Linked DNA regions of Homo sapiens: all the other regions are linked to region 2. The links are contacts of gene promoters, found by promoter capture Hi-C in blood cells and fetal thymus (Javierre and others, 2016). All regions are on one chromosome and are shown on one strand. The core of a region is centred on a gene start or on the middle of the fragment in contact, and the rest is flanking DNA. Distances in the headings are between cores, read along the strand shown. Region 1 overlaps KATNBL1 (katanin regulatory subunit B1 like 1). Region 2 holds the start of LPCAT4 (lysophosphatidylcholine acyltransferase 4). Region 3 overlaps KATNBL1 (katanin regulatory subunit B1 like 1).

Region 1 (2,700 bases), core at 182-2,681, 220 kb before region 2:
AAGGGCTGGCTCTATTGCCCAGGCTGGAGTGCAGTGGTGCCATCTCGGCTTACTGCAACCTCCACCTCCTGGGCTCAAGCGATCCTCCTGCCTCAGCCTGAGTAGCTGGGACTACAGGCGCACACCACCATGCCTGGCTAATTTTTGTATTTTTTGTAGAGACGGGATGTCATCATGTTGCCCAGGCTGTCTCAAACTTGTGAGCTCAAGTGATTTGCCCTTCTTGGCCTCCCAAAGTGCTGGGATTACAGACAGGCATCAGCCACCGTGCCTGGCCCAAAATTATGGACTTTAAGGAAACTGTTGGGAGATATTTTTCTGTGGTTTCATGATAATCTGGCTATACTCTGGTAGAATACCCACGAATTTTCACATCAAGGCAGTAATAATACAGTTTTTAGAACTGTAAACATCAACACCGGACTCTCAGGTTAATGTCTAGGTAAAGGACCCCGCAGGGTGCCTCCATTCCTTATTACACTGTGGGCATCTCTTTTTCCTCCCTTACTCATAATGAATATGAGAATTAAACCACTATTGTGTTTTTCTTCTAAAATGAAGGGTAGGGTTGTGCCAGAAGAAGAGATACAGGAGGTTAGTAGGCTCTGGAATTCAATTTCCAGGTGTGGTTTTCACAAATGAACAGTCTCTTAAGTTAGTATCTCTCTGAATATAAAAAGAATAAATACCATACACTGATGATAATGGGATAAAATTATTACCTAGTTTAATCAAGCTGCTTTCCTGAAGAAAATTTCAGCATGAGTTTATCTTTAAAGGTATACTCACCCATCATTTATAATTTCTGTTTTGGATGATAGTTCTGACCACCACCTTTTAATGACTGCTTGAAGCCAGTTTAAACCAACTATAACATATCTGAAATGACATTTTGTTACAAAATTCAAGTGTTTTCATCTAAGAACCCTTCTTATAAAAGATGATACTTTCCCTCCCAAAAAACACACACACACATTGGTCCCTTCCCTTTTAAAAAATTGTTACCTTCATGATCTATTACACAAAAGTATATTTCATGTAATTTGTTTAGAGATGCTTTTATAATTGTCCTTTAGTCATTTCATATTCTTTTCCTAATTGTACTATTAGCTTCTTGAAAACAGAAACCTTGCATGTCTCATGGAGCCCAATCTACTATGTACTCACAAAGCACAAAATCAAGGATGCTGAAAAAGAAAAATGAATCAAGATTCAGATTAGCACTTACTCTTCAAATTTGCTTTTAAGTAGTGACTTTACTAGAGGCAACAAGTCAACACAGCAGCCAAGTGAGATATATTGTTTTTCTTCCTGTAAACTAAAATAAATACCAAGTTATAAAAATATGGATGGGCCATAATTTGACCTCCTTTAATCTTATTTTTTTTCTGAAAAATATTGTTTTTACCAATTGGTGAGCACAGGAAGGCAATCTACCACAACGCCAAGATCTTCTATCCTGAGAGTATAAAAAGAATAGCATTGCCTTAGAGAGCTGATTTCCTTATTTACTTTCATATTATGATTATTCACACCGCTTTTGAGAAATTCATTCATTTAACAATGTCAGTATCTACAATGAGTCATGTCTGTGGATACAGCAATGAACAAAGACACAGGGCTTGTATTCCAGTGTGTGAGCAACTGTGGGGGTTGGGGGGTGGGACAGAGACAGGCAATAAACAAATAACAAGACATAAGACATATAGAGCAGGTTGATATAAGTGCTATGGAGAAAAATAAAACAGGAAAGCGAGATAGGGAGTGGAGAAATAGGTATTTTAAAATAAGTTGGTCAAAGAAGGCTTCCCTAAGGTAACATCTGAGAGACTTGAATACAATGAGGAAAGTAATGCTTCAAATTCCCACTCAAAAGGGATGTTTACTTTTTATTTTTAGTAATTTTTTTTTTAAGAAACGGGTCTCATTCGGTTGCCCAGGCTGGAATGTAGTTGCATAATCACAGCTTACTGCAACCTCCAACTCCTGGGTTCAAAGTGATCTTCCCAAGTATCTGGGACCACAAGCACGTACCACTGTGCCTGGCTTATTATTTTTATTTTTTGTAGAGATGGAGTCTTGCTATGTTGCTCAGTCTCTCACTCCTGGGCTCAAGGGACTCTCTCACCTCAACCTTCCCAAATGCTGGGATTATAGGCAAGAACTGCCACACCTGGCCTCAAAAGGGATTTTTAGAAGGTTAGTTTTCCCATATCGTTATCTCTTAGTTTTATAGGTAAGAATGACAGTCAGGAAAGGTAACAGCTTTGTTCAATCTGATAAAACATTGTTTTCTGTATTTTGGTTACTCTTAGATGGGTGAGGAATGTAATTTAAGCCATACTGTCTCTACTGAAGCTACATATAGGCAGTTTAGAATAATGAAGAAGGTTCACCTGAGCTCAGGAGTTCGAGACCAGCCCGGGAAACATAAGACCTCATGTCTTCCAAAAAATTTTTTTAAAAAATAGCCAGGTGTGGTGATGTGCACCTGTACTCTCAGCTACTCAGGAGGCTGAGGTGGGAGGGCTGCTTGAACTCAGCAGGTTGAGGCTGCAGTGAGCCATGATTGTGCCACTGTACTCCAACTTGGATGACAAAGCAAGAACTTGTCTCAGAAAAAAAGTGATTGAACAAAGAGGATAAAAGGTCACACTTACCTCAACAAATAAGCTACAAGTTCACTTATACTTCTCTTTC
Region 2 (2,700 bases), core at 1-2,500:
TTTATAAAACCGAAAGCCATAAAAAGCATCTAGCACTTAGAGGATTTAATAAGAATGCATGCGAAAGTGCAGGGCGCTGTGCTTGATGTACAGTAGGTTAGAGACAGGTCCTCCTCCCCCACATCTTATTCCATAAATAGCTCCTATGCCCAACAGAAACCAGGTGCACAGATCTTTCCACTTTGGGCCTAGGAGGCAGAGGGCTGTAAACAGCCAGAGGTCCAGTTTTCAGACCCGAGGTCATTTTCTGACACTGCTCAACAGCAATCTTAGAGTACCGGGGGATATGGGAGACAAGAGCTCGGCCCCACTCTGCAAGGGAGAGAGGCTGCCAGGAGCCAGGATGACTCCATAGGCTGCCTTGGGGAAGAAGCAGGTAAGCAAACCTAGCCCCTGGAGCCTGCCTCCGGGGAGGTGATGACAGCAGAAACCTTGGACACTCCCTCCCCACACCACCTCCCAGCTCCCCTAGGCTGGCGCGGCCCTCCACTTCCTGTAGCCAACCTCCCTCTCAGCCTCCCTGCCCCCACCGGGAGGTGCTGCAGTGCGGGGTGGAGGGGGGTTGGAGGGAGTGGGAAGAGGGAGTGTAGGAAGGGCACAGGGTCGCAGGCTCCCGGCCCAGAAACGTCTTCCCTCTAAGTCATGCCTCGGAGGAATACTCGGCACGCCCCCGCCCCCGCCCCCACCCCCGGCTTCCCGTAGACTCTAACTCCATCCTAGCCATCAGGCTCTGCAGAATGTAATCCGCATTCCCCAGCGTCCTTCATCTCTCCAACCCCAGGGTCCCCTGCAGCCCTCCATCCCCACCTACTCAGTTTTTCCACATCTTCGAGCTTGTCTATCGCCCAAGCCCGCAGCGTCCTCTCCAGGACTCCTTGCCCAACCGCGGCCGCCCCCACGTGCGCACCCCCGGACTCCCGCTCCGCAAGCCTCTCAGCCATCTCCTTCTCGTGGATCCCCAAGCCCACCTTTGCCAGGGCTCAAATGGCCCCATTTTCCTATCCTCACGGGTCCTTCCGACGCCCGCTCCCCACACATTACCTTAACCCTCTGGAGGCGAGAGAGATGTAACTCATGCACGAAGGGGTTGGGGGATGCTGGGGGTCCGGGGGTGGGATCTAGGGGGGCCCAGTCCCCCGGACTTCCCTGGCTCATGGCGGGAGAAGGTGGGAGGGAGGGCACCCCGGCCCTGGCCCCGGCCACCACTCTGCAGAGCAGCTGCTGCTGCAGCAGCGGCGGCGGCGGCGCTCTGGCCCGGGCCCCGCCCGGTGCAGGCGGCCGAGGGGCGGGGAGCAGGCGGCGCAGCCCAGCCCGCCCGCGTTGTCAGGGCGCCGGCCGAGGGGCGGGGCTTCCAGCGCCCTGGCGCCCCTGCTCCTCCGCGCCCGCCGCGGCGCCCGCAGCCGCTCGGGCCATTGTTCCGCGGCTGCCAGGGCTGGAGCGGGCTGCCCCTGGGCTTCTGCGCCTCCGTCGTTCCTCTCTGAAGACCTGGCCTCCGCCTCGGAGTGGGAGTGGGTCTGGGAGCTGAGCGCAGAGCTCAGAGCGCCCTCTGTCCCCGCCCGGGCGTCGAGGTCACCCAGCAAGCGCAGATCGGGGTGAGGCTCTTGGGTTGGTAGGCAGGGAGGGACAGGTGGGCCGGATGCAGAGGCCGGCAGCTCGCGGGTGAGGCGGCGCCCCGCTCTTCCTATGGGCTCCTTGGCCCGGTCCGCGCCTCCTCGCAGGCGGACCACCTTTCCTTCCCGGTCCGTGGGGCGCCATCGCGCGGGGACTTGAGGCACTTGCGTCCTCTGGCGGCTGCATGGCGCCCCGCAACTCTCCACCTCCGCGTCCTGCCTGTGCTAGGCAGGGCCGCCTTTACTGGTGTGAGGGTTGCTTGAACCCTTGAGGCGCCAGGAATCCCTAGTACACTGACGCATGTGCTTCCCATGAGCCCGACAAGGTCTGGCAGGGGAGAGGCAGTGGTTCCTGATCTCTGTCACTCTCTGGGTGAACGCAGAGGACACAGTAGTAATTCCCCTCACCCACAAGCTCCAAGCTACCCTAGAAAACAAATTGTTTAGCCTCAGGCCATCGTTTGAGATCAGGGACCAGGGAATTAAGTGGACTCTGAGATCCATTGCCATGACAAAAGGGGTAAGAGTCTCATTGCTTGAGGAAAGAATACGCCTTAAGTTCACTTTATGTCTTCTGCCCATTGCATGGCAGTTAGGGGAGCTGAAGGAAGAAAGTGAAAGAAAAAGAGACCTCTCATAACCAAGAGTGTTTGCCGCCACTGGCTTCTCCTTTAAACCAAACTCCAAATTAATCTGCTCCAGGAAATTTTCTGAGCCCAGGCTGAGAGGGTTGAAGGCTCATGCATCCTACTGAGACCAAGGAGCTGCACTGGGATGTTTTTGTATATAACACAGAGGTCCCAACACAAATACATCATTTCCACATTTTATTTTTGTATAGATAGGGTCTCGCTATATTGCCCAGGCTGGTCTCGAACTCCTAGCCTCAAGTGAGCCTCCCACCTCGGCCTTCCAAACTGTTGGGACTACAGGTAGTGAGCCGCCATGTACAACCCAAACCTTTTTTTTTTAAGCAGATGATTTCAGCTTTCTCACCAGAACCGAGAAAGTACAACTGCATGTATTAGTCTCCCTTGCCTTGCCTTTGGGGAGAAGTTTGTGTGTGTGTGTGTGTGTGTGTGTGTGTGTG
Region 3 (2,700 bases), core at 62-2,561, 170 kb before region 2:
TAGTCCCAGCTACTTGAGAGGCTGAGGCAGGAGAATGGAGTGAACCTGGGAGGCAGAGCTTGCAGTGAGCCGAGATTGCACCACTACACTCCAGCCTGGGCCACAGAGCACACAGTGAGACTCCATCTCAAAAAAAAAAAAAAAAAAAATCCATCCTACAGATAAAATGAGATTACATTTAGGATTTGCACAGAATAGGGAGTATCAACGAAGTAAGATATGTTGATAATTGCTGAAGCTGGGTAATTGTAAAGTTTATTATACTATCCTCTCTGCTTTTTTATATGATTAAAAATTCAGTCAGGCGCAGTGGCTCAAGCCTGTAATCCCAGCACTTTTGGAGGCCGAGGCAGGTGGATCACCAGGTCAGGAGATCGAGACCATCCCAGCTAACACGGTGAAACCCTGTCTCTACTAAAAGTACAAAAAATGAGACAGGTGTGGTGGCACGTGCCTGTAATCCCTGCTACTCAGGAGGCTGAAGCAGGAGAATTGCTTGAACCCAGGAGGCAGAGGTTGCAGTGAGCAGAGATGGCGCCACTGCACTCAAGCCTGGGCGACAGAGTGAGACTCCATCTCAAAAAAAAAAAAAAAACAAAAACAATTCCTGTAAGTTACAAGAAATAGGATACCAGACTATTTCAGTGAACAAAGCCAATTCATGGGAGACATACATATTTACGGCAATGCTCTGCAATGATACAGAGAAAATGGCATGTCTCTTGCTTTTAGGCCTAGAGGGTGGTGGTCTCTTCAATGACTGTATACGAAATCGACTTTGTTTCAGTAAGTAATGTGAAAGTCCGGGGAGGGAGAAGAGACAGAAACAAAAACAGACGTGTGTAGAAAGACTACGTGCTGTCCCTCCTTCCCACTCCATACTCCTGGATTTGGGTATAGGGAGAAGGATGCATAGAAGAAGAAAAAATCAGGAATAAATATGGAAAAAATAATCTCTCTCCTTTTAGAATATCCCCCAGCAATCACTGAATGCTTCCACAAAGGTGAACCTGGGAGCTGGGGATCAACAGTATTAAACGTTTTTACTTTATGTCCTCTTTATACCAAATTTTGCATCTCATAAGTATTACTTTAAAAATAACTTAAGGCTTGCCGGGCGCGGTGGCTCACGCCTGTAATCCCAGCACTTTGGGAGGCAGAGGCGGGCGGATCATGAGGTCAGGAGATCGAGACCATCCTGGCTAACACAGTGAAACCCCGCCTCTATTAAAAATACAAAAAATTAGCCGGGCGTAGTGGCGGGCGCCTGTGGTCCCAGCTACTCGGGAGGCTGAGGCAGGAGAATGGCGTCAACCCGGGAGGCGGAGCTTGCAGTGAACCGAGATCGCGCCACTGCACTCCAGCCTGGGCGACAGAGCGAGACTCCGTCTCAAAAAAAAAAAAAAAAAAACAAAAAAAAAACTTAAGGCCAGATGCAGTGGATCATGCCTGTAATCCCAGCACTTTGGGAGGCTGAGGCAGGCATATCACTTGAGGCCAGGAGTTTGAAACCAGCCTGGCCAATATGGCAAAATCCCATCTCTACTAAAAATACAAAAATTAGGCAGGCGTGGTGGCATACGTCTGTAATCTCAGCTATTCAGGAGGCTGAGACACAAGAATCGCCTGAACCTGGGATGCGGAGGTTGCAGTGAACAGAGATGGCGCCACTGCACTCCAGCCTGGGAAACAGAGCAAGACTCTTGTCTCAAAAAATAAATTAATTAATTAAAATATCACCAGTAGGCTGGGCATGATAACTCATTCCTGTAATCCTAGCAATTTGGGAGACAAATGCAGTTGGGTCGCTTGAGCCCAGGAGTTTGAGACCTGCCTGGGCAACGTGGTGAAACCCTGTCTCTACAAAACATACAAAAATTAGCCGGGCATAGTGGTGCACACCAGTAGTCCCAGCTACTCAGGACGCTGAGGCAGGAGGGTCGCTTGAGCCCAGGAGGTTGAGGCTGCAGTGAGCCAAAATTGCACCACTGTACTCCAGCGTGGGTGACAGAGAAAGGCCCTGTCTCAAAAAAAAAAAAAAAAAAAAAAAAAAAAATCACCAGCAAAATCACCAGTAATTCAACCACTTTTCCTCCCATGCAGTTTAGTTTTTCTTTGTCGTTTTTTATTTTTTTGAGATGGAGTCTTGCTCTGTTGCCCAGACTGGAATGCAGTGGCACGATCTCGGCTCACCACAACGTCCGCCTCCTGGCTTCAAGCGATTCTTCTGCCTTGGCCTCCCGAGCAGCTGGGACTACAGGTGCACGCCACCATGCCTGGCTTATTTTTGTATTTTTAGTAGAGACGGGGTTTCTCCATATTGGCCAGGCTGGTCTCGAACTCCTGTCCTCATGATCCACCTGCCTTGGGCTCACAAAGTGGTGGGATTATAGGCGTGAGCCACTGCACCCAGCCTGCAGTTTAGTTTTATATGCTGCATTTTGTCATTAATATTATATTTTCCTACATGTTAAAAGATTTTTTTTTGAAAATATGATTTAGGGCCAGGTGCAGTGGGTCATACCTGTAATTCTAGCACTTTGAAAGGCCAAGGCGGGAGTAGCACTTGAGCCCATGAGTTTGAGGCCAGCCTGGGCAACATACTGAGACCCTGTCTCTATAAAAAATAAGAAAAAAAAACTTTAAAAATTACATGAGCATGGTGGCACGCGCCTGTAGTTCCAGCTACTTGGGAGGCTG

Evidence for each region. The method cuts DNA at HindIII sites, captures the fragments that hold promoters and counts their contacts. A CHiCAGO score of 5 or more calls a contact.
Region 1: a fragment that was not itself captured here is called in contact with the fragment with the promoter of LPCAT4 in region 2 in 1 of 17 cell types (neutrophils); the score reaches 5.1 in neutrophils.
Region 3: a contact is called between a fragment that was not itself captured here and the fragment with the promoter of LPCAT4 in region 2, in 1 of 17 cell types (neutrophils). The highest score is 5.3, in neutrophils.

The regions. Positions count from the first base shown.
Region 1 is chr15:34,145,972-34,148,671 of GRCh38, forward strand. KATNBL1 (katanin regulatory subunit B1 like 1) reads right to left here. Exons shown (of 10, transcript NM_024713.3): 5 at 2,661-2,700; 6 at 1,409-1,459; 7 at 1,229-1,318; 8 at 790-879. Among named protein-coding and RNA genes, the nearest start is that of PGBD4, 45 kb to the left of the region's middle. The HindIII fragment of the contact is 4,046 bases long and covers 1-2,700 here.
Region 2 is chr15:34,365,946-34,368,645 of GRCh38, forward strand. It overlaps LPCAT4 (lysophosphatidylcholine acyltransferase 4), which reads right to left and starts at 1,251. Exons shown (of 14, transcript NM_153613.3): 1 at 1,042-1,251. The coding sequence starts at 1,155. RefSeq lists silencers at 656-745, 826-875, 996-1,455, 1,586-1,635 and enhancers at 1,411-2,406, 2,006-2,295. The HindIII fragment of the contact is 20,785 bases long and covers 1-2,700 here.
Region 3 is chr15:34,191,825-34,194,524 of GRCh38, forward strand. The region is part of intron 1 of KATNBL1 (katanin regulatory subunit B1 like 1); the gene reads right to left. Among named protein-coding and RNA genes, the nearest start is that of KATNBL1, 17 kb to the right of the region's middle. The HindIII fragment of the contact is 4,650 bases long and covers 1-2,700 here.